Regions from separate parts of the Homo sapiens genome. Here all the other regions are linked to region 6. Evidence: promoter capture Hi-C in human tissues and cell types (Jung and others, 2019). All regions are on one chromosome and are shown on one strand. The core of a region is centred on a gene start or on the middle of the fragment in contact, and the rest is flanking DNA. Distances in the headings are between cores, read along the strand shown.

Region 1 (3,819 bases), core at 1,314-3,813, 290 kb after region 6:
TTACTTTCTGATTACTTTGTTTAAACCAAGCTCCTCTCTGGTTTATAATCCTTTATGGGAGCATATTAAGAAGGGGCAGCTTAAGGTCTGTTTAGATTGGAAAAGAATCATGAAATAAACAATTAATATTTAGGAAAAAGACCCAGAACGCTTTATTTGTAGACTTTTTCTCCTCTCATTTAATGAATAATAGCCTTGGACTGTGGTCTTGGGCTTCTCATGCATTTATTTTTATTGCTGTTGTCATATATTCACTGGTTACACTCTTTGTACTATTTTGGACAGTCCAAAATTAGGGGAATTCATTGGAGTAAATATTTCGATCATTTCTGCTGGTATGAGTTGTATAGAGAATACAAGAGTGTCAATTCCAGGAACAGGGAAACAAATTCAGTGCTCATATTTTATCCTAGAAAAGAGGTCTTGGAACTTTTGCTTTGGGTGATTTTTAAAAAGCAGTCAATACTCCTTCCCATCTAGCCTAAGACTCCATTATGCCCCAGCCCAATGTCTGGTCCAGTTGGTCGCTGATGGTCCTGCCCAGAGCAGATCTGCTCTGCCCAGCCTTGGGGCTTCTGCTCAGGTCAGCAACTCCTGCTGAGATGGCCTCCTAGTTTTTTGTAACTATGAATTCTACACATCCTCAAAAGGGAGATCAAATCCTGGTTGTCCTAAGAAGTATTTCTTGGGAGGCCTGGACACCTTCTCCTCCTCCACCAAACTTCTCTGCCGCTCACTGCCTGGCCCTTTAAATACATTATTAATTGTCTTTTCAAGCCTACAGGTTCTTATTTCTCCAGGTAAATTCTAACTTCTTTAGGCAGAAATTATAAGTTGCCATCCAAAAATTCATTCTTCCCTGCTTTTTAGTAACAGAATCCCAATTATTCAGGGTGGCAAACAACCACATAAAAATTGCATTTTCTAATCTCCCTTGCCAAGTACAGTAACGTCAATACATTCTGATCAATAAGATGTTAAGTTCTTGGCAGGGCACAGTGGCTCATGCCTGTAATTCCAGCACTTTGGGAGGCTGAGGTGGGCAGATCACTTGAGGTCAGGAGCTCAAGACCAGCCTGTCCAACATGGTGAAACCCCATCTCTACTAAAAATGCAAAAATTAGCCGGGTGTGGTGGTGCCCGCCTGTAATCCCAGCTACGTGGGAGGCTGAGGCAGAAGAATTGCTAGAACCCGGGAGGAGGAGGATGCAGTGAGCCAAGATTGTGCCACTGCACTCCAGCCTGGGTGGCAGAGCAAGACTCCATCTGAAAAAAAAAAAAAGATATAAGTTCTAAAAAACATTAGAACTTACAGGAAGATTGCTTAAGGGGAGCAGATTCTTCAGGAAGGCCGGACATTTTGTCCTCTCCTGCTTTCACACTCCTGCTGCCTGAGGTGAAGAGGGATGAAGAAAGGAGCTAAGAAAGCTGTCTTGGACCATCGGGTAAACTTCAGGATGGAAGCCACTGACTAAGAACAATGGAGGAGAAAGATGGAACGAGCCCAGTATCCAATGGCTTTGTAGAGCCACTCTTACATTCCCGGACTATCTCCTCTAGACTTCTTTTCTGTAAATGAATAAGCCTTTTATGTTTAAGCCATTGTTGTTTAATATAGTCAAACCCACTTCTTCTCTCGTCCATCTCCTTAAGGGCAGACCAGCTTGTTAAATCATGGTGTCTCCAGCAGTGTCAGATATAGTACATGATAAATTCTAAACAGCTATTTGTTAAAGCTTGAAAATGTTTTCCTTCTGACCTAAAACAGCTCTCATCCTGATTAATAATAGAATTGCTCTCTTTAAAATTATGTCCATTGATCTGATATTCCAATTTCAAAAGTTCACATTTTTCAACTTTTGGAAATCTAGAAAAAGTGCCACGAGCTCTCATAATCATGCCATGGTTGACTTCAAAGAATGTAAAAGTTTCTCCTGTCATCTAGATGAGGAACTGAAGGGAATCACCACTGATGCCTACAGCACCCACAGGGGTAATTTTCAGAGGCTGCTGCTGAATGTCCTGTCTGTCAAATGTCACATATCTGCTCCTCACAGCTGGAGGAAAAATTATGGTTTCTGATGCTGTGCCTTCCAGATCTTCTGTAAATGTTTCTCATTGGCAGAATCTTTCCTGGGATCTACTGGCAAGGGATTTGGAGAAATATCTTTCCCAAGCTTCCAGCTCAGCTATCAGGATGCCTTTTTTTCCCCAATAAAAATAACTCTAACTCAATTTAGTTTAAATTATAATGAAATATTTTGGTTGTCATCACTACAATTCCAGAGGTAGTCAAGTTTAAGACTGATCCAGTATCTCTAGCTCTGTTTCCCTGCACTTCAGTTGGCCTGAACTTATTTGTGCACTGTCTTCATCCTCAGGTTGGTGTTAGGTTAGCTAGCATTCTAGGTCTTCCCACATTTCCAACCCCTGGAAAAGCTGATGTTCGGTCCCCAGAATGGTTGCTAACAGACAATCCAGCCCATCTGTTTCTCCCACTCTTCCTTATCAAGCATCAAATTCTATTACATGTCCACAATCACTCATCCCTAAATCCAGAAATCCAAAACACTCTGAACACCAAAAGATTTTTTTCTTAAGTTTGGTACAAACACAATTGGCAGCACAAACTGACCTGATATAAGACTACTCAGTTCAGTTCAGGTATTTATTCCATTTAGCGTGAATATCTACATGTTTTCTTTACAGAATAATCAAGTTGGATTACAAGGTATTGCCCTACACCCCAAAGAGGGCATTGAGTAATATATGGTAAAATTACAATATTATTTATCTAATATCCAAACATTCTGTGTGTGTGTGTGTGTGTGTGTGTGTGTGTGTGTGTCAGGTTCTCACTCTGTCACTGAGGCTGGAGTGCAGTGGCACAATCATGGCTTACTGTAGCCTCAACCTCCCCGGCTCAGGCAATCCTCCCACCTCAACCTTTTGAGTAGCTGGGACTGTAGGCATGTGCCACCATGCCAGGCTAATTGTTTGATTTTTTGTAAAGATGGGGTCTCGCTATGTTGCCAGGACTGGTCTCTGATTCCTAGGCTCAAACAATCCTCCCACCTAGGCCTCTCAAAGTGTTGGATTACAGGCATGAGTCACCACACAAGGCCCCAAAATTCTGAGTTTCAAAACACACTGGGTCCTAAAAGTTTCAGATAAAGGATTGCAGACTTTTAGAACAATTCATTCCCTATGTTCCCTATGGCACACTGACAAAATGGAATCTTTATGTGTTTATTTTAAATTATATTTATGAAAGAGTTCTTTTTTTTTTTTTTTTTTTTTGAGATGGGGTCTGACTCTTGTTGCCCAGGTTGGAGTATAGTGGTACGATTCTGCCTCCTGGGTTCAAGCGATTCTCCTGCCTCAGCCTCCCCAGTAGCTGGGATTACAGGCACCCACCACCACACCCAGCTAATTTTTTGTATTTTTAGTAAAGACAGGGTTTAGCCATGTAGTCCAGGCTGGTCTCGAACTCCTGACCTCAGGTGATCCACCCGCCTCGGCCTCCCAAAGTGCTGGGATTACAGGAGTGAGCCACCGCACCCAGCCAAAAGAGCTCTAATATAGCAAAATAGTTATGTTATAACATTATGTGAAAAAAATGATACAAACCTACATTTTACATATATATGTATATATATATGTATATATATGTGTATATATGTATATATATGTGTATATATGTATATATATGTATATGTGTATATATATGTGTATATATATATGTGTATATATATGTGTATATATATATGTGTATATATATGTGTATATATATATGTGTATATATATGTGTATATATAT
Region 2 (3,772 bases), core at 143-2,642, 300 kb before region 6:
CTACAGCATTTCTGCCCTGACCCTTGCAGACCTTCTGGAGCAACTCCCCATAACACGCACATTCGATTCCCACCCCCCTGCAGTCTACCCCAGTTCTACATCCATCAGGACTCCCCCAGCTTCTCTTAGCCCCCTCTCTTCCCTTACTCCCCATCTCATCCTTTAAATTCTGGGGCCCATCTCTTCCTGCTCCTCTCACCATTTGCTTTTAGCCCTGTCTCTTTACCTCACTGTTTTCACCTTGGATCTTGCTGAACCTCTTCAATTAACGTAATTACCCAGTTATCCTTGTCCCAGATGGCCATCACTTCTTACACCCTAACTCTAGTCTCCTTTCAGCTCTTCTGGTCCCAGAATCGTCCTACAGACACCCATCTCTTATCTGTTTCCTTTCGCCCTTCCACCACACTCTTATTCCTGACTCCACCTGGTTCCAGTCCAGGTCTCATTTGCCCTCCCTCACTTTACAGAATTTACATCCATCGCCCACCCACTAACCCATTCCTTTCTCAGAACCTCGCCAGCAGTTCCCACCACACCGTTGGTCCCAGTCCTTCAGCTCATCTCGCTCCGCACTAGTTCACACCCTCGTCACGTCTGGCTCTTAATCACTCTCTCTTTCCTACTCCCAACTATTACCCCAGCTCTGCCCCTCCTTGTCTTCCACTTCCAACACTTACCCCGGTACCCCTCACCCCAACACCACCCGCTACGAAGATTTCCCCTTCAAACCCCTGCTCTTACACCTAACCCCAGGATCCCTTTCCCCAGCCCTAACCTCATTCCCTGCCCGGCTTCCTTAACGCCCACCCTGGCTTTTGCCTCCTTCCTATCTCCTTGGCTGGCTTTTTCTCACTCCTCCTCTCCCTGGCTTCTAACCCTTTCTCCCCTTAATCCTCCTCATCTCATTCTCAACCCGGTTCCCCTCATCGCCTCCAAGCCTTCCTTTCCCTCTCCCTTCAACGCTTTTGCCCCAACCCAGCCGTCGCCCACCCCGCCAAAATAAGGCGCCCGCGCGCCCCGACTCCCGGCTCTCGCCTCCCGCCGCCCCCGCCCCGGGCGCCCCCAGCCCGCCGGCGCCGCGGTCCCGCCCCCTGCCGCCGCTCCTCCCGCCCGCGAGGCGCGCGCTGCCTTTGTCGCCCCTCACCCGGTGTGTGAGGATTTTGCTTCTTTAAAGGGGAGGGCTAGTGAGCCGGAGACTCCTATCCCCGCCTCCGAGTCTTAGAATGGGCTCCCTGGCCGTCGCGGCCTCCCCGGCCCCCGTTCCCCCTACCCCCTGGAGCTACCCACTTTGCTGCCTCCCCACCTCCTCCGTCCCCTCCCCCGGCCCCCTCTATTTACCGCCATCATCAGCACGCGCGAGCTGTCACCAGGGCGCGAGACAACCGAACACGGCCCCGCCCCCTGCCCGTCTATTGGCCCGCCCGCTGGAGCCCCGCCCCTCAGGCCCTGCATTGCGCCAACGGCGCAGCGCTGGGCCGCGACCCCGGCACCGGCACCCGTTCCGAGGGTTCGCGCCGCAGGCGCAAAGTTTAGGGTCAGCCACAAACGCGCGGCCGCTTTGAGCCTGGCGTAAGGGGCGGCGGCGTAGGGGGACGTTGTGAATAGCTGGTCGAAGTTTGGTTGAAGCACAGGAGGGTAAATAAGAAGGTTTCCAGACAAAGAGACTCTTAAAGGTACAGACTCTTATGTCTGTCCCTCCTCCTTAAAGGGCCAGAGACGCTCCCGAGCCCATCTCCGCCCCCTTCTTCCCGGGGAACTGTAAAGGTATTTTACATGAGTTTCCCATACTCTTTTCGGTTCACCTTTAACACCTCTCCCCACTGCGAAGGACAAAGGCTTTCTCACTATCCCGTCCGTATGTTTTGTTTTATTCTGTTAAAAGACGTTATTTCTGTGTTGTTCCTAAAGCAGCAGCCCTCAAACCGTGGGGTTTCCGGAGGCAGCGTTTGCAAAAGTTACTATTGGCTCCCAGGCGGGTGAGCACGTGTCTGGCTTTTGCCACAGATGACCCAAGAGAGATTCAGCTGTTTTATGGAAATCCCCCACAAGTTAGAGGATCGCTGCCGGAACTGAAGAAGTTCAGCAGATTGTAAGGCTTGGGAAATAAACCAGACTGACTTGGTAGTGGTCCATTGGGAAACAGAACAGCACCTAAGCTACAAAAGGCTTAGGTTAAGCAGTCTCCTAGGTGCACTGTCTTGAAACTACTTGCGGGGTGGTAGTGGGGGGAGGGGATGGGAGTCTCCCAAAATAAGATCAACAATTTCAACACCCAACACATAGCTAAGGCAGATAAAGACTTACATTTAAATATAAGGACAAGTAAAAGAAACAGACATTAGCTATAGTAGTGGCTCAAGTTACACACCTGTAAACAGGAGAACTAGGTAAGCACAAAAAAAAAAAAAAGAACACCACACACAATAGGAAGGGGGAAACTACAATGCCTGGACCAAGCGCTGTGTAGGCAATTTATTAACAACTTGCACTTTTAAAAGAGGTTTGATAGAAGGAGAGGAAGTGGAGTGTTTCAATTTGGTTTGGTCGGGATTTATCATGAGGTTCAAGGCCTCAGAGTTAGATTCAGAATTTAGCTCTCCCTTTGTCGTCCATCACAGTTAACATAATTCTTTTTAAGGAATTCTTAACATTATAACTCTAATTATATGTCTTATTCCCTTACTCAACAATCCCCAAGAAAATTCTTGGAGAAGAAAGATTGTTACTTATTCAATGTTAGTTCCATAACAAGGTGCTTTTGCTGAGTGAAGAATTTGGGAGCCACTTAAAACTTCCAATGGAAGGGATGCTCCCAGAATAGCAATACAGGAGGAAAAGTTTCTCAGTGATGTGAGCATGTATTAGATCAGTGTTCTCAAAAATGTGGCCTGGAGGCCGGGCACGGTGGCTCACGCCTGTAATCCCAGCACTTTGGGAGGCCAAGGCAGGTGGATCATGAGGTCAGGAGATCAAGACCAGCCTGGCCAACATGGTGAAACTCCGTCTCTACTAAAAATACAAAAATTATCCGGACGTGGTGGCGTGTGCCTGTAATCCCAGCTACTCAGGAGGCTGAGGCAGGAGAATTGCTTGAACCAGGGAGTTGGAGGTTGCAGTGAGCTGAGATCGTGCCACAGCACTCCAGCCTGGCAACGGAGTGAGACTCCATCTCAAAAAAAAAAAAAAAAAAAAAAAAGTGTCGCCTGGAAAGGCCTAGGGATCTCTGAGACCCTTTGGGCTGGGGGGATAGTGGGGTGCCTGAGATCAAAACGATTTTCCTAATAATACTGAGACATATCTGCATTGTCACTGTGATGATATTTGCACAATGATACAAAAGTAGCAATGGGTAAAACTGCTGCCTTAGCACAAATCAAGGCAACTGCACCAAGTTGTGCTAGAGGTCAAGGTATTCTTCACTGCTACAGTAAAAAAACACCTGTTTCAGGCCGGATGGGTGCAGTGGCTCACACCTGTAATCCCAACACTTTGGGAGGCCAAGGCAGGTGGATCACTTGAGGTCAGGAATTCGAGACCAGCCTGGCCAACATGGTGAAACCCCTCTCTCTACTAAAAATACAGAAATTAGCTGGGCGTGGTGGCACGCACCTGTAATCCCAGCTACTCGGGAAGCTGAGGCAGGAGAATCACTTGAACCTGGGAGGCAGAGGTTTCAGTGAGCCGAGATCGCACCACTGCACTCCAGCCTAGGCAACAGAGTGCGACACTGTCTCAAAAAAAAAAAAAAAAAAAACCACCTGTTTCATTT
Region 3 (4,298 bases), core at 66-2,565, 460 kb after region 6:
AAAAAAAAATTAACCTTGATGTATCCGTTTGGGGGAGGACTAGAACTTAAAGATAGATATCTTTTTTATTTTTTATTTTTTTTGAGATAGGGTCTCACTCTGTTACCCAGGCTGGAGTGCAGACCTCGGCTCACTAGAGCCCCTGCCTCCCAGGTTCAAGCAATTATCCTGCCCCAGCCTTCTGAGTAGCTAGGATTACAGGTGTGTGCCACCACGCCCAGCCAATTTTTGTATTTTTAGTAGAGATGGGGATTCTCCGCGTTGGCCAGGCTGCTCTCGAACTCCTGACCTCAGGTGATCCACCTGTCTTGGCCTCCCAAAGTGCTGGGATTACAGGTGTGAGCTGCCACGCCCCGGCCTCTGTTGTGTTATTTTCTGATTTTAGATGTTCATCCTTGGCCAGACACATTGGCTCATGCCTGTAATCCCAGCACTTTGGGAGGTTGAGGTGGGCAGATCACAAGGTCAGGAGTTCAAGACCAGCCTGGCCAACATAGTGAAACCCCACCTCTACTAAAAATATAAAAATTAACCAGGTGTGGTGGTGGGCATTACTAATTCCCGGTCCAAATAACTTTATTTTTTATTAGGCAGAAGAAGCGCAACGGAAATTGAAAAGACAAAATAGAGAAGATACAGGTATTTTTAATCTTTCTGAAAATGTCTTGCCCATCTTTTTTGCTTGTTAAACATTGTTTTCTGTTAACTATGATGATTGTCCTTGGTGGAATGAATATTTAAATGTAAGCTTTCCTAGTGAATAACCTCCTATTCAGAGGAATAATAAATATGTTAACACAGAAATAGTTTGTGCTAAGTCCTCTGGGTTGATGTTATCTCAGATCTTAAGACCTTTCTAGGGGAAAAGATAGACTTTCTTCTGTACTGCTGCTACTTTCGTGGCTCTTTTTATGCATTTGACCTTGAGAATGTAAAATAATAGCTTTAAGGTGTGTGTTAATGAATATTCTTTGAGTTAAAACTATCAAAAGTAACAAAGAGATAGTTTCTAAAGCATGTTCTGTAAAAGAAACCAATAATAACAACTGTATTTTCAGCACTCCCACCTCCGGTGTTGCCTCCATTCTGCCCTCTGTTTGCAAGCCTGGTTAACATTTTGCAGTCAGATGTCATGTTGTGCATCATGGGAACAATTCTGCAATGGGCTGTGGAACATAATGGATATGCCTGGTCAGAGTCCATGCTGCAAAGGGTAGGTTTGAAGACATTTATTATTTATATTTTAGTATTTTATAGTACAAGCAAAATATTCTTGTCTGTATCTATACACAGGAAAACTAGGCCGAAATGTATTGTGTTTTCCTAACTTGAATATATTGTTACTGCTTTTGTGTCTGACAGTAAAAACAAGTGCCAGACAGATTTTTTTATACCACATGGTTGTTATTACCTCAGTCCCACTGGGCAGTTGTTCTCTCCTAGATTGGTCCTTGTCTTTATATATGTAGTATTCTGATATTGATATAATGTGTTATCTTTTATATATGTTTCTAATCTAATTATTTTCCAAAACAAAAATTTTTTTTGAATCATCCATATCCTTATTTTGTAGTTGAAGAAACTGACACTCATAGACTTACGGTCCTATAGCTAGTTAAGTGGCAAGTCTGGAACCTTGTTTGTGTTATTTTTGTTTTTGTGTTTTTGAGACAGGATCTAGCTTTGTCACCCAGGAAGCTGGAGTGCAGTGGTGCAATCTTGGCTCACTGCAACCTCTGCCTCCTGGGTTCAAGTGATCCCGCCACCTCAGTATCCCAAGTACCTGGGATTACAGGCATGCATCACAACATCTGCGTAATTTCTGTATTTTTGGTAGAAACAGTTTTGCCATGTTCCCCAGGCTGGTCTCAAACTCCCAGACTCAAGCAATCCTCCCCCCTCGGCCTCCCCAAGTATTGGGATTACATGCGTGAGCCACTATGCCCAGCCCCTTGTTTGTATTTTACTTTATAGTTTTAATGTAAGCCGTTCGTACACTATCTCATTGAATTCACACAACACCCCATGAATAGATACAACTTTTTTCTCATTGTTAGATGAGGAAGCCAAGTTTCAATGAGGTTCCATTAACTTCCCATATTAATCTACTAAGTGATATAACAATTATTCATTAAATAGAATGCCTACTTTATGCCTTATTCCATGCTAAGCCCTTTTTTTTTTTTTTTTTTTTTTTTTTTTGAGACAGTTTTGCTCTTGTCACCCAGGCTGGAGTACAATGGTGTGATCTTGGCTCACTGCAACTTCTGCCTCCCGGGTTCAAGCAATTCTCCTGCCTCAGCCTCCCAAGTAGTTGGGAGTACAGGTGCCTGTCACGAAGCCCAGCTAATTTTTTGTATTTTTAGTAGAGACAGGGTTTCACCACGTTGGCCAGGCTAGTCTCGAACTCCCAGCGTCAGGTGATCCACTCACCTTGGCCTCCCAAAGTGCTAGGATTACAAGGCGTGAGCCACCGTGCCTGGCCATGCTAAGCACTCTGCATACAGTATTTGTAATCCTCAGAACTCTAGAGGGAAGCTTTGTTTTTCCAAGGCTAAAGATGATGACTTGGGCTCAGAGGCGTTCCCTTAGGGTATATATTAATAGCTTGAAAGCAGTAAAACCAGGATTCAGATTCAAATTTTGGAGCCCTCCTCGGGAGGCTGAGTAGCTATCATTCTTTCTTTTTGTCTCACTGGCTAAGATGTGTGTATTCTTATAATGCCCTCCTATTTATCTATAAGCATATTTAAAGTGTAAAAGCATGGAGCTGTGGTGTACTAGCTCACTACTAGTACAGCTGTACTAGCTGTCGTGTACTGTCAGCATTACATGAACAAAAGATTTGTGGGAAATAATGGAGAGAAGAGGTGTGAACAATATTTACCTTACATGTACACTTGCTTTATGTCACCTAGTTCTTCCAAGTCTCTGACAACCACAGTCATCCCATGTGAAGGGAAAGATACAGAGACATCACACACATATCTCCTTCAAAATCTGGGGTGTGGGCCCGGCACAGTGGCTCACCCCTGTAATCCTAACACTTTGGGAGGCCAAGGCGGGTAGATCACTTGGGGTCGGGAGTTCAAGACCAGCCTGTACAACATGGTAAAACCCCATCTCTACTAAAAATAAAAAAATTAGCCAATCGTCATGGCACATGCTTATAATCCCAGCTACTCAGGAGGGCTCAGGAGAATCACTGGAAACTGGGAGGCAGAGGTTGCAGTGAGCCAATATTGTGCCACTGCACTCTAGCCTGGGCAACAGAGGGAGACTCCGTCTCAAAAAACAAAAAAACTTGGGCATGGGATAAGAGCAGTAAAAAAACAAATAGGTTGATACAGTCTCTAGAAGTCTGGTCAGGAATATTTTGTGAGATACACTGAAGAACTATAAAGTTTATAAATGATAAGGCATTAGAGATAAAAGTTTGTCTTTCTCAGATGATGAAGATTTAGTCCTTAGAGAAATTAGGTAGTGTCATAGACTGGATAATTACATGGGGGATACGTTTAGCTTTATAATTACTTGACCACTAATTCTTGGAAGGTTTTTTTAAGTCTGTAGTATAGGTATAGAATAAAACTTACATATTATGTGAATTGCTGGTCACAGCTGGTGTAATTTTAGCTTACCCTGAGGATTTGCAATTGAAATTTCTTCCTCATTGAAGTAGAAAATTTTGTTTTTCTTGACAATAATTGTTTGTTAGAAAATAAACCTCAGTCTTTTCATTTAATAAAAATTAGTACTTCAAGGCCGGGCATGGTGGCTCACGCCTTTAATCCCAGCACTTTGGGAGGCCAAGGTGGGCGGATCACTTGAGGTCAGGAGTTCAAGACCAGCCTGGCCAACATGGTGAAACCCCATCTCTACTAAAAGTACAAAAATTAGCCGGGTGTGGTGGCACGCGCCTGTAGTCCCAGCTACTCGGGAGGCTGAGGCAGGAGAATCACTTGAACCTGGGAGGCAGAGGTTGCAGTGAGCCTGGGTGACAGGGCAAAACTCCATCTCAAAAAAAAAAAAAAGAAAAAAAAATTAGTACTTCAAATTGTTTTTAATTGCATTTAGTATTTCATAGTTTGATTTATCTTTTTCAATAATTCTTTTTTCCTATTTCTTATTAAAATATGTACTTGATTTTTTAAATTTTTACTAAAAGTTACAAAACATTTATTCAAGGTGTTACATTTAATTGGCATGGCACTACAAGAAGAAAAACAACATTTAGAGAATGTCACGGAAGAGCATGTAGTAACATTTACCTTCACTCAGAAGATATCAAGTATGTA
Region 4 (3,991 bases), core at 263-2,762, 400 kb after region 6:
TTACTGTCAAAAACATGAACTTAACACCTCTGAAATTGAGGAAGAAGAGGTAAAAACATTTTCACAAAGTTGTTTTTAACCCAAGTTTGAAATATTTTGAGAAATAGTCATTAGATGATGTGAGAAATGGATAAGCAAATAGTACTTCCACTATTGACAGTGACTAGTTTACTTTGAAAGTTCTTTGCATTTTGTGGATGCTGTACGGTTGCTAATAGTACACAGTTGAAATTTGGGAAATTTCATTTAATTCTGATTTTTTATTTGGTTGGGGTTTTGTTTTAAGCATACTTGAAGTTTATTTGAGTACTAACCTATGGTTGAGAGGATTATTTTTCCCATATGTGTAGACCAGTTAACCAAGTTGAGTTTTGTATATCTTTATTATAACAAAGACTTTTGGGGCCAGATAGCTTTCTTTTCTGTTACCATACATGACAGCCAATCCCAATCATCATCTCCTGGTTTCCATTATCATTGGTTATGTGATGGGACCATGTGTAGTGATGATAGCTCAGTACAAATAATTCCCACTGCTTACTGTGTTTTTCAAATTGTTGATCCTGCATTATTTTTCTTAAATGGATTTGTAATGGAATAGTAGAGTCCCACAAAATAAATGCTTAAATCTCTGCTGCTTTTTTTAAAACTTCAAAAACTTTCCATATATTTCTAATAACTCACTTAACTGTAATTATACAATGATTAAATCTTTCAATGGTATGCTACAATAGATTATGTTTTATTATTTTTAATTGACAATAATTGTACATATTTATGGGGTACAGCGTGATATTTATGGGGCACAGTGTGATATTTTGATACATATATACAATGTGTAATGAGCAAATCAGGGTAATTAACATATCCATCACCTCAAGCATTTAACATTATTTGGTTTTGGAAACCTTCACCATCCGCTCTTCTAGCTATTTGAAAATATACAGTAAATTGTTAATTATAGTCATGCTATAGTGCTGTAGAACATTAGAACTCATTCTTTCTATCTAGCTTTGTTCTTGTATCCGTTAGCCAACCTGTGGCAGTCCCTCTTCTGCTACATTTTATGACAATTTGTTGTATAGTTCAAGATCCTTCTTTCAGATTTTATTTTTAAATGGCAGGGGAATAGGTACACTCAAGTACGTCTACATTGTTAGTAGGCCTGATATAGATTTGGGGCAAGTGGACATCAATAGTCCTTCCTCAGCCAGGCAAGGTGGCTCATACCTATAATACCAATACTTTGGGAAGCCAAGGCGGGTGGATCACTTTAACCCAGGAGTTTGAGACCAGCCTGGGCAAATGGCAAAACCCCATCCCTACAAAAAATACAAAAATTAGTTGGGTGTTGTGGCACGTGCCTGTGGTCCCAGCCACTTGGGTTGGGGGTGCTGAAGTGGGATCCGCTTGAGCCATAGGAGGCAGAGGTTGCAGCAAGCCAAGATCATGACCCTGTCTTTAAAAAAAAAAAAAAAAAAGTTCTTCCTGGTACCCATATCCTACAGGTCTCAAATATATTTTATCAGAATGACCAAAGCTTTTGATGTACAAATCAAAATTTATACAAAATGATTCAGTGCTATGGAAAACATGTTTTGTTTTTCATTTGCTTTGTGAAAGGGTTCTGTAATTTGCTACAGTAAGATGCCAAGTGGTCAAGGTTCCAGATTTTTCCACTTCTATTGGAGAAGCTCCATTTTTATATAGTTGATTGGGGTTCTGTATGTAGAAATACAGGACAAATAAAGATATATTTGAAAAAAAAGAATTGTGCTTTAGAAAAAGGTTAAAAACCACTGGTATAAAACTTTAGGACTGCAGGAGAAAGTATATGTGTGTATATCCAAGCCATGTATCCAAAAAGGATCTAGTATGCAGAGTTTATATCTTACAACTCAGCAAGTAAAAAGATAACCCAATTTAAAAATGGGCAAAAGACTTGAATAGACATTTTTACAGAGAAGATATATGAATAATCAACAAACACATGAAAAGATGCTGAACATCATTAGTCATTAGGGAAATGCAAAATCAAAACCACAGTGAGATACTGCTTCACCCTCAGTAAGATGACTATTAAAGTAATAACAAGTATTGACAAGGATATAGAGAAATTAGAACCCTTGTATATTGCTAGTGGAAATATAAAATGATTCAGTGCTGTGGAAAACAGTTTGGCTGTTCCTCAAAATATTAAACATTACCGTATATTTCACACCTAGATATATACCCAAAAGAACTGAAAACCGAAGTTGAGCAAGTACATGCACACACATGTTGTAGCAATGTTGTTCACAATAGTCAAAAGGTAGAAACAGCCCAAATGTCCATCAGTGAATGAATGGATAAACAAATTGTGATAATATACATACAATGGAATATTTTTCGTCCATAAAAAGGAATGAAGAACTGATACATGCTACAACATGCATGAACCTCTAAAACATATTAAGTGAAAGACGCTAGACTCAAAAGGTCACATATTGTATGATTCCTTTTATATGAAATATTCAGAATAGGTAAATCTGTAGAGAGAAAAAACAGATTGGTAGTTGCCAGGGGCTGGGGAAGAGGAAAATGGAGAGAAATGGCTTAGTAGGTAAGGGGTTTTACTTTGGAGTGATGGAAATGTTTTGGAACTAGATTGTAGTAGTTGCACGTTATAATAAATGTACCAAGTACCACTGAGTTGTTCACTTTAAAATGGTTAATTTTATGTTCTGTAAATGTCATGTCATTTATTTGGAAAAGATACTTTAGGACTTCTGTTACCTTTTTTATCCCTGTGTTAGAGTAGACTTAAAATAATTTTCTAATGAAAAGTTTTGAATCTGCCTACATTTGCTCTGTTGGCTTTATCCTCATACATTAGTGGGATGGCTATCCAACAGTCCAAGCTCTACTTAATTTCCTGAATTTTAAGAAGACACCAGCAAGCTCCCCTGCCTAGCCAAAAGTCATACAATCCTGCCTGGAGAATGTATACTCCTGGAACTAGACAAAGAATAAAGCCTTCCAAACTCTACCATTTAATTTATATTTAAGAGTTTAATTAAGGCCAGGCGCGGTGACTCATGCTGTAATCCCAGCCCTATGGGAGGTCGAGGTGGGCAGATCACTTGACCCCAGGAGTTCAAGACAAGCCTGGGCAACATGGCAAATCCCCGTCTATACAAAAATTACAAAAATTAGCCAGGTATGGTGGCGTGCACCTGTAGTCCCGGCTATTCAGGAGGCTGAGGTAAGGGGATCACCAAAGCCAGGGGAGATTGAGGATGCAGTGAGCCATGATTGTACCACTGCCCTCCAGCCTTGGGCGACAGAGTGAGACTCTGTCTCCAAAAAAAAAAAAAAGTTTAAGAGAAATGAAGTCAGCCAGGCGTGGTGGCTGACACCTGTAATCCCAGCACTTTGGGAGGCTGAGGCAGGCAGATCACCTGAGGTCAGGAGTTCGAGACCAGCTTGGTCTCGAACATGGAGAAACCCCGTCTCTACTAAAAATACAAAATTAGCCGGGCGTGGTGGCACATGCCTGTAATCCCAGCTACTTGGGAGGCTGAGGCAAGAGAATCGCTTGAACCCGAGAGGCAGAAGTTGTGGTGAGCCAAGATTGCGCCATTGCACTCCAGCCTGGACAAGAACGAAACTCCATCTCAAAAACCAAAAAAAAAAAGAGAAATGAAGTCTTCAAGGGTATTAAGATAGCATTTTGTTTAACATACCTGTTCCCAGTAACTGTTGAACATAATTTTTTTGTCATACATTTAGCCTACATCTTCCGAAAAAGCTGGGGGAAACCTGGTGATATAGAAATGCTATGCAGGAGTTCCACAGGTCTTCTCATCTCTTTGCATTTGGGGGTGAGATATTTCTTCATTGTATAGGACAGGGTTCAGCAAGCTCTGACTCCTACAAGCCAAATCTTGTCCACAACCTGTTCTTGTGTCTGTTTTTAAATAGTTGAAAAAAATCAACAGAATTGTATTTT
Region 5 (4,058 bases), core at 714-3,213, 440 kb after region 6:
CTTAGAAAGGTATGGAGCAAAGGAGATCCCAGCAAACATTCCGGCATCTACTGCTCTTGGGTTTTTTCTGTGTTGGTTTTTTTTGTTTTGTTTTGTTTATGAGATGGAGTCTCACTCTGTCGCCCAGGCTGGAGTGCAGTGGCGCAATCTCAGCTCACTGCAATCTCCACCTCCAGAGTTCAAGTGAATATCCTGCCTCAGCCTCTCAAACAGCTGGAATTACAGGTATACACCACCACACCAGCTAATTTTTTGTATTTTTAATAGAGATAGGGTTTCACCAAGTTGTCCAGGCTGGTCTCGAACTCCTGACCTCAAGTGATCCACCCACCTCAACCTCCCAGAGTGCTGGGATTACCGGCATGAGCCACCGCACCTGGCCAGTTTTTGGGGTTGTTTTTTTGTTTGTTTTTTGTTTTGTTTTGTTTTGTTTTGTTTGAGACATAGTTTTTCACTCTGTTGCCCAGGCTGGAGTACAATGGCACAATCCTGGCTCACTGCAACCTCCGCCTCCTGGGTTCAAGTGATTCTCTGACCTCAGCTTTTTGAGTAGCTGGGATTACAGGCACCTGCCACCATGCCTGGCTATTTTTTGTATTTTTAGTAGAGACGAGGTTTCACCAAGTTGTCCAGGCTGATTTCAAACTGCTGACCTCAAGTGATCCGCCCACCTCGGCCTCCCAATGTGCTGGGATTACAGGCATGAGCCACTGCGCCAGCCACTTTTATATTTCTTTGGTTTCCACTAATGTTCTTTCTTTAGAGGTTACAAGTTTATTTTTTTAATATGCTTTCTTGGAAGTATAGTCAAGTTATTTGAGAAACTGTAGTGGTTTTTGATTTTGCTTTTTAATGTTTCCATGTTTCTTTTTCTCTCCTTCATGTGGTATTTATATAATACAGTGTAGACCTTTTTCCCCTGTTTAATTCTCTTTTTAGGAAACATCCCTATATACAAAACAGAATCTAGAAGTAGAAACGAACAGGTATATTTAACCAGTTATAACTGTAAGAAGATAGGTGACGTCTCTAAAAATCTGAGCAAGTACTATTATGATTTCTTTAGTAGCCACCTGGCTTTCTTAAGAAAAGGAATGACCAAAGTTGACTTACCATTTTTATTTTTATTTGTTTGAATTTATTTTTATTTATTTATTTATTTTGGAGGTGGAGGTTTGCTCTATCGCCCAGGCGGGAGTGCAGTGGCGCGATCTTGGCTCACTGCAACCTCTGCCTCCCAGGTTCAAGCAATTCTTCTGCCTCAGCCTCCCGAGTAGCTGGGATTACAGGTGCACGCCACCACACCTAGCTCATTTTTGTATTGTTAGTAGAGACAGGGTTTCGCCATGTTGGCCAGGCTGGTCTTGAATTCCTGACCTCAAGTGATCCACCCGCCTCGGCCTCCCAAAGTGCTGGGATTACAGGCGTGGGCCACCATGTCTGGCCTGACTTACCATTCTAGTTCCTAGGTTGGGTGGTAGTTCATGGGTGTTTATTATAATACTACTATGTTTTTCATGTATCTGTGAAAACAATAGCTACTTTGGTCATTTTTGATACTTGAAGTATTCTGTATTCTCTATTGTTTAATAAGTTCTGACATACTAGAATAGTTAGGCTAGTTTCTGAACAGTAATTTTAATTAAAAGCTATTTATTGTTTTGCCTTCTTTCAGGCTCTGTGAAAACTTCTAATTGCATATTAGGACATAATATTAAAACTTTATTATAAAATACAGTTATAAATTCAATAACATTTTAAAAGCTTGTCACATTTCTTTTAACAATTTTTTCTATAGACCATAGAGCTAAAAAGGAAGGATTATTGCAGTGAAATATTGAAGTATTTTATTGCCTAAAACAGATCTTAGATGATACCTCTGAAATAATGTGTTTATTGGGATTTCTAAATTTATATTTTAGAGAATGTTATATAAACACATAATTTTAAAAGCTATTATTTCTCATAGTACTTGAAGTTTCCTGTTAAAACTTATACCTTCTATGTTTTTATAATCAATATATATTTCTCCTACATTACTTCTTAGGTTTCCATATAAAAGAACAACTATTATTTTCATTCATATATAATTTTTTCACTTCCGTTAAGGGAATGGATCCAATTACACGTCAAGTAGGACAACATATTGAAATGGAACCAGAGTGGGAAGCAGCCTTCACACTACAAATGAAATTAACACATGTCATTTCAATGATGCAGGACTGGTGTGCTTCAGATGTGAGTTTCTTCTGGGTGCGGGGAATAGGAGGAAAGTGGAAGAGGGAGGAATAAGCAGAATCCTAAGTAAATTTCAAGGAGATCTGGAGAAAATAGTGGTGATACTTAGTTCATTAAACAGCGTATTTTCCTTCTCCACCTATAAACTCAGTAAAATTTTAAAATTCTACAGCCTGAGGAAAAACTTGAAAAATAGAGAAAGAAATAATCCAGATTGTCTCTTCCCTAATGTAACTATCTTTGTTTTTTTTCCATAATCCCTTCTAGACTTTGAGGATATAAAAATGGTAGTTTCTAAATTTATTCAAAAATAAAGTTTTATTATTGGTACATTTGTCCTGTGTCTTAAAATTATTTTGGCCTTCCTTTGGCGATAAAGTCTAGATGAGAGCCTGTATACATTATGAGGTTAGGGAGGTTTCTGTAAGGTCTGAACAATCTGTAAAAGTTAATGGAACAATGAGTAAATGATATTCCTGACTGAGAAGACAGCTGCATTATAGTCTGTGATGACAGGGACTAGGGTAGTCCTAGGAGCTATAGAAAGGTCTGTGGTTGGAGCACAGAAGTAGAGAACAGAGATTTGGGCACAGGAGTGATTTTTCGGGGCCTTGGCCATGGTTGTTTTTTTTTTTGTTTTTTTTTTTTTTGAGACACAGCTTACTCTGTTGCCCAGGCCAGAGTGCAGTGGTGCAATCCCGGCTCACTGCAGCCTCAACCTCCCTGGGCTTAGGTGATCCTCCCACCTCAGCCTCCCAAGTAGCTGGGACAACAGGCACACACCACCACACCTGGCTAATTTTTCTATTTTTTGTAGAGACAGGGCTTCGCCGTGTTACCCAGGCTGGTCTTGAATTCCTGGGCTCAAGCGATCTGCTTGCCTCGGCCTCCCAAAGTCTTGGAATTACCAGCGTGAGCCACCACACTCAGCCTGCATTTTATTTGAATTGAAGTGGGAAGCCTTTAGAGATTACCATCTCTCTATTAAATTCCCTGCTTCAACTCTTGCCCCCTTTATCCATTTTCCATACAGTGACATGATTCAATTTACATGTTTTTTAAAATTGCTCTGTATGGAGAATGGATGAAGGGGGCAAGAGTCAAAGCAGGAATTTAATAGAGAGACGCTTGGCAATGCCTTGGAGTTACTAGAGATAGAGAAAAGTAGCAAGTTTTGAGAGAAACTTAGAAGATGAAGTTGCCAGCTTGGTAATAGATTGGACAATGGGGAATGGGGGAAAGGAGGGTATTGGAATAACTTCTAGATTTCTGCACTATATGAGTAAATGTATCATTCACTGAGATGAGGGACACTGGAAGAGGGACCAAATTTGGGAGGGAGGATTGAGTTTGGTTTTGCCTATATTGTTATTTGAGGTACTTACTCACTGAATTTAAGGTGCTTATTCAATGTTGTAAAAACTCAACCTTTTGAGTAACTTACAGAAAAACCCTCTTTTTTAGGAAAAAGTGTTAATCGAAGCTTACAAGAAATGTCTCGCTGTACTGATGCAGTGTCATGGTGGTTATACTGATGGTGAACAGCCAATCACACTAAGCATTTGTGGACATTCAGTGGAAACTATCAGATACTGTGTTTCCCAAGAAAAAGTTAGCATTCACCTCCCAGTTTCTCGCTTACTTGCAGGTAAAGCATTTCCCCTAAAATAAAACCCTAAAATTATCTTTTAAATTGTTGTTTGTGGTTAATATCTGTGAATACTTACTTTGTGCCAGATGTTATTCTGTGATTTCTACATCATTAACTTATCCAATCATCACATCGTCCTGTGAAGTAGGTATTATTATTAAGCTTGCTT
Region 6 (3,853 bases), core at 49-2,548:
TGAAGGTGCTGACCTCACCCTCCTGTCCCGGGACAGGCACTGTGGGGACGTGCACTGACTGGTACCAGCGACAGGATGAGACCTGAAGTGGCATTCCCAGTGATTCAGCTTAGAAAGCTAAGTTCTCCACGCACTGAGGAATGGAGAACTGACACTTTCTTCAGATTAAATTGGTATTTGAGGCAAATACCAGGGCATTTGAGGTATTTGAGGTATTTGAGGATTGCCAGGGCACTGAACTGGATAACCTTAAATAATCAAGGGGTTTTTAACTGAATTGAAATTTAAAATTCAATCCCCTGGTGCATTTACAAGATGTGTTATCTTCTTAGCTGCTAGTGACATTGTGGGCTTAGAGAAACTCTAGTCTGAATGATTTAATGAAACCTTCCAGGACTTGAAGAGCTGAAAGGGGCTTTTGCAGTCATTCGCCCAGTCTCCCAATACATGCAGGAGCCTCTTCCAGCATTCTTGACAGGGAGGATCTGACCAGTCTCAGAAGAACCCCAACAAGAGGGAGCTCATAGCCCATGCTAAGATACCTTGTCTCATTTAGAACATCTCTTTTGCTCCTAGTGTTTAGAGTGACAGGGGCTCTGGCAGATGCGAAAACCCGGTCATTGGGCTGCAGAGTCTTGGTCAAAAATACACAAAGAGAGGACCTGGACTGTCTGCCAGTCGCCCTTCAGCTCTCAAGAAGAGGACACAGGGAGCATCAGCCGACAGCTAAGAGATGGAGGGAGGGAAGGAGAGACAGAGAAGATGGAAAGGGACAAAAGGAAGAGAAGAGACAGAAGGGTTTGGTGAGTGAGACAGAAAAGGTAAAGAGAGACGGAGTGGAAAGAAGAGCAGAGAAAGAGCCGAGGAGTGGGGAACTGGGAGCTCTCCCTGAGGACACTTGTGGAGGAAGGCGCCAGGTGGACTGGCCACTGGTCCTTCCCTTCAGGGTGCCTTACCCCATTCTTGTCGAAGGCTCGGAACATGCCCTCTACATACTGGGAGGCCTCCTCATCGTCTGTGACCTTGAAGAAGCGCTTAAACTCATGCATAAAGAGTGTGCCGCTGGGGCACTCCATCACAAACTTCTTGTACCACTCCTGGAGCTCCGCCACATCTATCTCGCCAGCTGCCTCCGCCTCCTCCCAGCTAAACTCCTGCCCCATGCTAGCCCTGAGGAGCATCAGGGAGCAAGGGTCTGTATCTCCTCCCTGGCTTCTGCTGATGGATCTCTCCAACTAGGGCCCTCTTCCTCCCTTTCCAGGAGGCCTGATCAGCCTCTCCATCATCTCCTGGGTGACTGAACATGATCAGTCGGTGCAGGGGGCAGGTGGCAAGGGAGGTGGGTCCAGGCCAGCTAAGCTGCCCTAAGACTATTAGAAGATTCCCCAGGTGGCCGGGTGCGGTGGCTCATGCCTGTAATCCCAGCACTTTGGGAGGCCGAGGTGGGTGGATCACAAGGTCAGGAGTTCGAGACCAGCCTGGCCAACATGGTGAAATCCTGTCTCTACTAAAAATACAAAAAATTAGCTGGGCATGGTGGTGGGTACCTGTAATCCCAGCTATTCAGGAGGCTGAGGCAGGAGAATCACTTGAACCTGGGAGATAGAGGTTGCAGTGAGCTGCGATCACACCACTGCACTCCAGCCTGGGGGACAGAGTGAGACTCTGTCTCAAAAAAAAAAAAAAAAAAAAAAAAAGAGATTCCCCAGGAAGTTCTGACCTCCAGCCTAAACTCCTCCAGCCTCACTCCTTCCCTTAGCCTTGTCAACAAAGCAACCAAGCTGGCCCTGGTAGACTCTGAAGAGGTAGAAGGGGAAGAAACTGAGAGGTAAGCAGAGAGATGCAGAGTGAAGAAAGAGTCGGGGTGCTAGGCTGGGATCCTCCCATCTCACTCACTCCCTATCTCTTTAGCTGGGCCTCACATTGCTTCAGGGAGGCCCATCTTGGAGACAGGAGACTCAAATCCAGAGAGGAAGTGAGATCAAGTCCTAGGCCATAAAACAGAATCTGCTGGTGATCTGGGACTCGCCCCTCAGACGGTCTAGTGAAAAGAGGCAGAATCTATGATGGGAAGGGCTCTAGGTGAGCAACTCTCTTCCCAGGCTAACTCGGTCCCTGAAGCTCCTTTCCAGATTACACCTTTCATCTTGGGAGCTTTTCACTTTCTGATTTAAACTACAAATGCCTCCCTCCAACCCTTCACACAAGACCTAGGGGTAGTGCCTTTTTCACATTTCCTCCAAAATACTAACATGTGAGAAGGATCTGGGAGCATGGCCTAAAATATCTTTGAAGGCTCTTACTTTTACATTATAGGTCATGTAAAATTTGCTTTTGAACAATTACATATTCATGCTTATTTTAATGTAACATAAAAATGACACCTCCAAGAAATCAAAAGACCAGGGACACACATTTTTCTTTTTCTTTGCTTTTTTTTTTTAAATTTCTATTTTTTGAGACAGGGTCTCGCTCTGTCGCCCAGGCTGGAGTGCAGTGGTGTGATCTCGGCTCACTGCAACTTCCGCCTCCGGGTTCAAGTGATTCTCATGCCTCAGCCTCCCGAGCAGCTGGGATTACAGGTGCACACCACAACACCCAGCTATTTTTTCTTCTTTTTTTTTTTTTTATTATACTTTAAGTTCTAGGGTACATGTGCACAACATACAGGTTTGTTACATAGGTATACATGTGCCATGTTGGTTTGATGCACCCAGCAGCCAGCTAATTTTTGTATTTTTAGTAGAGATGGGGTTTCATCATGTTGGCCAGGCTGGTTTCAAACTCCTGACCTCAAGTGATCCACCCGCCTTGGTCTCCCAAAGTGCTGGGATTATAGGCATGAGCCACCACGCCCAGTGACACTCATTTTTCTAGAAGACTTCAGAGGCAGCAGTTCCAGTGAATCTATCCTTAACCTACCCATCCCTCACTGGGTGTTCAGCCTGAATTGTTTTGCACATCTCCAGGCCTGACCTCCTCTCTCACTGTTCTCTGCCTCCAGACGTCACTGAGCTCTGAAAGCTCTTTTAACTTTCTTGCTATTCCTGAAGGAGAAATGTGATTTCTTCTGTCATCCTTTCAAGTGGTGGTGGGTTTTTCTCCCCCACACACACCTCAAGGTCTAGATAACAGGGCTAGTGTCCTCCTCGCTTCTAACTCTTGCCTCCAAATGGCCTTTTACTTTTTTCTCCCCAAAAAAGGCCAGTCCCTTTGAAGCCACATCTGACTCCTTGCCACTATTTACTTCTCCTCATTACTGTCATTCACTGGTGACTTCCCTGCTTGTCTCAAAGCATCATGTCAGTCATTTCAGTGACTGTGACCTCCAAGTGGATAAACAGCCCATCCCATACACTGGCCTCAAAGGTACTTGATCTCTCTCTCTTTTTTTTTTTTTTTTTTGAAACAGAGTTTTTGCTCTTTTCACCCAGGCTGGAATGCAGTGGTGCGATCTCGGCTCACTGTGAACTCCGCCACCCGGGTTCAAGCGATTCTCCTGCCTCAGCCTCCCTAGTAACTGGAATTACAGGTGCCTGCCACCATGCCCGGCCAATTTTTCTATTTTTAGTAGAGATGGGGTTTCACCATGTTGACCAGGCTGGTTTCGAACTCCTGACCTCAGATGATCTGCTCGCCTTGGCCTCCCAAAGTGCTGGGATTACAGGCATGAGCCACTGCGCCCGGCCCCAGTGAGATGTGTGGGGGTCACACTGCCCTCTTAGTCTCTAATTGCTGGCAACCTGGCATGGTCCCACATGCGTAAGCCACCGGGCCTGGCCTGGTCCTTGATCTCTTTAGTTCCAAAGAGCTTTTCTTCCACCTTACCTAGTACTTCCATTCACTTGTGGTC
Region 7 (4,145 bases), core at 1,357-3,856, 460 kb before region 6:
CCCAGGGGGTGGCTGGGCTACTCCCTGTGGGGGCAGGTGCTAAGTAACTCTATTAACTCTGGCTAATGATGCAATTACAGTCATAAACAGAGCCCCAGGAGGGCTCAGGGCCAAGAGCTAGACCCTCAAAGGGCAGCCAGACTTGAGGGGTGGGAGTCCCCTTCCACCTACTTCTCAGCTTTCCAGAAACAGGCTGAGGAGGCCTGTGACAGCGCACGTGGGACCCTGGAAGGGCTCCTGCCTGCCCTGGCCCACTCCCTGCCCACCTCTGACTGTGAGTCACCAGGCCATTAGCCCGTAAAAGCCCAGTTGGCTCTCCCTAGATTCAGTGCCCACCTAGGGTGTCCCCTGCCCTATCCCCTGAACTCCTTCCAGGGCACCCGGAACCAAGATACCTGGGTCCCCATTTGGCTCCGTCTCCCAGAGCTGAGTTGAGGACAAAATAACCCTGCAGCTGTAACAAGCCTTGTAAATGGTAAGCACCATTGGCTTCCCTCGGGGAGAAGCAGAGCATGGAGTCACCCAAACAGCTCTGCCCTTCATTTACACCCTCTGGCTCCCAGCTCTCCGGGCCCCGCGGCCAGGAGGCAGACGGAGAGAAGGGAGCCAGGCGAGTTGCTCGTGGTCCTGGGGCTGGGGTCACCGGCATGGTGAAAGCATACCGTCAGGTTAGCAGGCAGGGACCTCAAGGCAGCTGACCCTTCCCTTCCTCTGCCTCTGCCTCTCCTGGCCGGCCAGGAACTATTGCTGGCTGTCCCTCCCCGGACAGTGAGCTCCCTGAGGGGAGGGCCTGAGGACTGTCTCCCAGTCGTGGCACCAAGAACTGCGTTCTAACCGAGCGCATCCGCATCTGTCCACCCAGAAGGAAACCAGAGACCAGCCTCCAACCTCATCCCCAGCTGCCCAACAGTGCCAGGTCTGGGCCAATGGAATCTCGGCCAGGGCGGGTGCAGGGGCCTGAGGCCACACCCCAGAGGTGTCACTGGGGGCCTGCATCCGTCTTGTCCCTTTCCCTGAGGGATGAAGCAGCCCCTCACTCGGGATGGGGGGAGGGCAGAGGATGGGAGCTGGGCAGTAATTAACCTGCACTTCCCCAGCGAGCTCTAAGCCAAAAACTGCGCTCAAGTTGAGTGCAGAAGCTCCGCGCTGAACCGTCCCCAGAACAGACAGGCGAGAGAACGACGGCTGGAGCTGAGGGGGGTTCGGGGGAAGGCGCAGCGGCCAGGGGCTGGCGGAGAGCGGAGGGCGGGGGCCTGGGCCCAGCGGGGTTCGCGCAGACAAGCCCCGCCCCGGGCTCCCTCCCTTCCTCACCCGGGGCGCGGGGCTGGGGCGCGCCAGGCGGCTGCGGCGCGAACCTGCTCGCGCAGCCCGGAGCAGCTCGGGGCAGCCGTGCGTGAAGCCGGAACCCCGCGCGGGGAGGGGGCCGAGCTGGCATCTGCCCGCTCCCTTCCAGGAGGCGAGCGGACGCGCTGGGCCAGAGCTGGTCGGGACAGCCCAGGGGTGGGCGGCACGGACTCGGGGGATCGGGGGGAAGGGGGCGTGTTTTCCGGGATTCGGGACCGAGACGGGGGGAGGGGGAAACTCGGGGGGCGGGCAGGCAGCTGGGAACCCGGGGGGAGGCAGACAACGGGGCGCACGGAGGGAGCGCTCCGGGGTTGGTGTTCCCCAGGGTCATAGAATAACCCACGGGGAGAAAGAGACTGCCCAGGGACTCGAGGGGACGGGGCCAGGGGCGGCTTCTTCAAGAGACCGAGCTGGAGGAAGGGACGGGAAGGGAGGGAGAGATGGTACTTCCACCCGCCCCCCCATCAGCCCAGCCCCCGGGGCGTGGCGCCGCTCTGGCCCTCCCACTCCCCCCGCTGGCCTGGCCAGACTCAGCCCCCGCACACCTCCCCTACCTCCGACCCCCTCTCAGGCATCGCCGGCCCCAGCCGTGTCCGGTGGAGGGGGAGTGGGCGCGGGGCCCGCGCGTCCCTCAAACTTCTTGCGAGTTCACCATCACGCCTCCCGCCCCTTCGACTCCCAGCTCCGGGCCGGGAAGGCCCATGCCCGCCCGGCCCCTCCCGCCCGGTTACATAAGGTCGCGGAGAAGCCGCCCCCGGCCCGCGCCTGAAGGGAGGGGCCGAGGGGGCTCCCGGCTCGGCGGGCAGCGCCGCTCGGGCCACGCGCTGGGCGCCCGGGGGCGGACGGACTGCGGGTGGGTGGCGGCGCGCACGGTCCTGCTTCCCTCTCCTGCCGGCATCCCCCACCCTCCCACCTGTCTCCGGGACCCACGGGATAGGGGCCAGGGAGCCTGGGTCGGGGGTCCCGGGCCCTCCTCGTGCCTCTCGCTCCCCGGTCCCGCTCACCTCGCTCTGAAGGTCAATCTGTCCGCCGCCCGCGCCCCGCGGCTCCGGCAACTTGTCGCAAGTTCGGGTGCCTGGCCCGCAAGCTGTGCCCGCCACCTGCTCCCGGCCTGCTCCGGCCCCGTGCCACCAGGGAGGCCCGCCCCGTCCGCCCTTCCCGCCGCCGTCGGCGCCGCGGCCGCTCCCTGCGTCCCGCCCGGGCCGCCGCCTCCGCTGTCACCGAGCCCCGCGCCCGGCGCCCGGGCTCCGGCTGTCACTCCACGCACACTTCCCTCCGCGCCCGGCAGAGGGCAGCACCCGCCCCGCCTCCCAGCCGCTCTGCCTCGGCGCCCACTGGGAAGCGTAGTTCTCGCTGCAGTCCCGCTAGGCACGCCGGGATTTGTAGTCCCGCTCAGCGGACTAAGGCTTACAGGGAAAGAGGCTCTTGACTTGGAACCTCTGATCCACTTCTACCTCTTTGCAAGTTTTCTTTCTCCTCTCAGTAAAGTCCCAAACCAGGGCTCACTAAGATACATTCTGTAGCCTGTCCGACCCCCTAAAAGGAACCTGCAGCCTGCTGTCCTTCGGCAGTCTAAGAAAGAGAGGGTCCCAGATGGTGTGCTGTTGCCATAGAAACTCCACCTGTGGCAAATTCCAGCTTCTCTTCAGGAGTAGGGTGCAGGACCTGGATCTTGCACTTTTATCCCTGCCCCGATCATAAGGGGCAAGGCCAGGGTGAGCCTGGCGAAGTACAGGGTAAAATATGACAGTAGAAGGCAGCCTGCCCCCATTATGGGTTCTACATTCACGCCCCACTCACCAGCCTGAGCTTGCTGTCATGTTGCTGGACAGAAATTGTCTGAGCTCCTTTCATGTCACCTTCCCTTGTTGGAAGTTCACAGGGTGCGGAGGCATCATTCTCTACTTTCTCCTCTTCCCCGCCCCTTTTTCCCTGTCTCCTCCCCCAGCCCCTCCCCTGCTTTTCTTCTCCTTCCCCTCCTCCTTTTCTTCCTCTCTCTCCTCCTTCCCCACATACAATGTTGCTCCTGGTTTCTGGATCTTTTGCTAAGAGGCTCCTGAGGAGGACAGGGATGAAGTCCAAAGGGACAAGATCCCTTGCTGAGTTGGTTCCAGCAAATAGGCTCGATTTCTCTGTGACTCAAGTAGGAACACTCTCCCCCGGCCCGCCACCCACCCACCCATGATGGCGCTACCACTGTCTTCCCTTTCCAGGGGAAAAGTATGAACTTTAAGCTCTGAGGGTTACAGAGCCCATCCCAAGCCATGCCTTAGGTCCCATTTCTCTTAGAATCACAGTGACCCACCAGGAAACCTTGTAGCCACTCAGGGAAAACTCCCTTCCAAAAACAACAGGATGACCAACATAAAGAAGAACTATTTATTATTAGAGAAAGTCCAGAGTCCAGAAAAAGAAGGCTGAATCCAGAGTGGAAAGACAGATACAATGCCCTAGGAGGGTGCAGGGTCAAGAGGAAGAGGGGAGCCCACGTGTCGAGGCAGCAAGTCTAGGCGGCAGTGGCAAAGCCTACTCTGTTGTTGCCCAAGTCGTAGACGGAATAGTAGGACCTGAGGAAGACATCCCCGAGGATCCACAGGGGCTGGCCGTTCTGGGAGGACAGGTAGGTGGGCTCGACTCCCACGGTGCAGTAGCCGTTGTTCTGCTCAACAAAGAAAGGCAGCACTCATTCATTTGTCCACACATGAGCTGGGCCCTGCTCAGCTCTGAGCCCTGGGCTGGGAGCACAAGTGCAGAGCTGAGGGAGCCAGGGTCTCTGCCTTGAGGGCTCATAGGCCAACTGA

What was found. The method cuts DNA at HindIII sites, captures the fragments that hold promoters and counts their contacts. A contact is called where the count stands out against the background at its distance.
Region 1: a contact is called between a fragment that was not itself captured here and the fragment with the promoter of GUCA1B in region 6, in 2 of the 25 tissues and cell types used here (mesenchymal stem cells and spleen).
Region 2: the fragment with the promoter of USP49 here is called in contact with the fragment with the promoter of GUCA1B in region 6 in 1 of the 25 tissues and cell types used here (mesenchymal stem cells).
Region 3: a fragment that was not itself captured here is called in contact with the fragment with the promoter of GUCA1B in region 6 in 2 of the 25 tissues and cell types used here (lymphoblastoid cells and thymus).
Region 4: a contact is called between a fragment that was not itself captured here and the fragment with the promoter of GUCA1B in region 6, in 4 of the 25 tissues and cell types used here (IMR-90 fibroblasts, dorsolateral prefrontal cortex, hippocampus and 1 more).
Region 5: a contact is called between a fragment that was not itself captured here and the fragment with the promoter of GUCA1B in region 6, in 1 of the 25 tissues and cell types used here (H1 embryonic stem cells).
Region 7: the fragment with the promoter of TFEB here is called in contact with the fragment with the promoter of GUCA1B in region 6 in 2 of the 25 tissues and cell types used here (pancreas and spleen).

The regions. Positions count from the first base shown.
Region 1 is chr6:42,482,437-42,486,255 of GRCh38, forward strand. No RefSeq gene overlaps it. Among named protein-coding and RNA genes, the nearest start is that of TRERF1, 32 kb to the left of the region's middle. The HindIII fragment of the contact is 5,855 bases long and covers 1-3,819 here.
Region 2 is chr6:41,893,983-41,897,754 of GRCh38, forward strand. It overlaps USP49 (ubiquitin specific peptidase 49), which reads right to left and starts at 1,393. Exons shown (of 8, transcript NM_001286554.2): 1 at 1,342-1,393. RefSeq lists enhancers at 152-666, 1,601-1,790 and silencers at 1,231-1,470, 1,259-1,551. The HindIII fragment of the contact is 16,047 bases long and covers 1-3,772 here.
Region 3 is chr6:42,651,433-42,655,730 of GRCh38, forward strand. It overlaps UBR2 (ubiquitin protein ligase E3 component n-recognin 2), which reads left to right. Exons shown (of 47, transcript NM_001363705.2): 24 at 591-639; 25 at 1,059-1,213; 26 at 4,189-4,291. Among named protein-coding and RNA genes, the nearest start is that of PRPH2, 69 kb to the right of the region's middle. The HindIII fragment of the contact is 4,700 bases long and covers 1-3,665 here.
Region 4 is chr6:42,594,256-42,598,246 of GRCh38, forward strand. It overlaps UBR2 (ubiquitin protein ligase E3 component n-recognin 2), which reads left to right. Exons shown (of 47, transcript NM_001363705.2): 4 at 1-49. Among named protein-coding and RNA genes, the nearest start is that of UBR2, 32 kb to the left of the region's middle. The HindIII fragment of the contact is 7,676 bases long and covers 1-3,991 here.
Region 5 is chr6:42,633,309-42,637,366 of GRCh38, forward strand. UBR2 (ubiquitin protein ligase E3 component n-recognin 2) reads left to right here. Exons shown (of 47, transcript NM_001363705.2): 14 at 2,110-2,238; 15 at 3,703-3,886. Among named protein-coding and RNA genes, the nearest start is that of UBR2, 71 kb to the left of the region's middle. The HindIII fragment of the contact is 3,846 bases long and covers 41-3,886 here.
Region 6 is chr6:42,193,658-42,197,510 of GRCh38, forward strand. It overlaps GUCA1B (guanylate cyclase activator 1B), which reads right to left and starts at 1,299. Exons shown (of 4, transcript NM_002098.6): 1 at 957-1,299. The coding sequence starts at 1,163. RefSeq lists a cis regulatory region at 3,790-3,853. The HindIII fragment of the contact is 9,949 bases long and covers 1-3,853 here.
Region 7 is chr6:41,733,002-41,737,146 of GRCh38, forward strand. It overlaps TFEB (transcription factor EB), which reads right to left and starts at 2,607. Exons shown (of 9, transcript NM_001271944.2): 1 at 2,349-2,607. It overlaps PGC (progastricsin), which reads right to left. Exons shown (of 9, transcript NM_002630.4): 9 at 3,710-4,003. The coding sequence ends at 3,851. It overlaps MIR10398 (microRNA 10398), which reads right to left and starts at 609; the gene lies at 553-609. RefSeq lists enhancers at 1-499, 396-505 and silencers at 1,156-1,595, 1,726-2,255, 2,296-2,765. The HindIII fragment of the contact is 30,918 bases long and covers 1-4,145 here.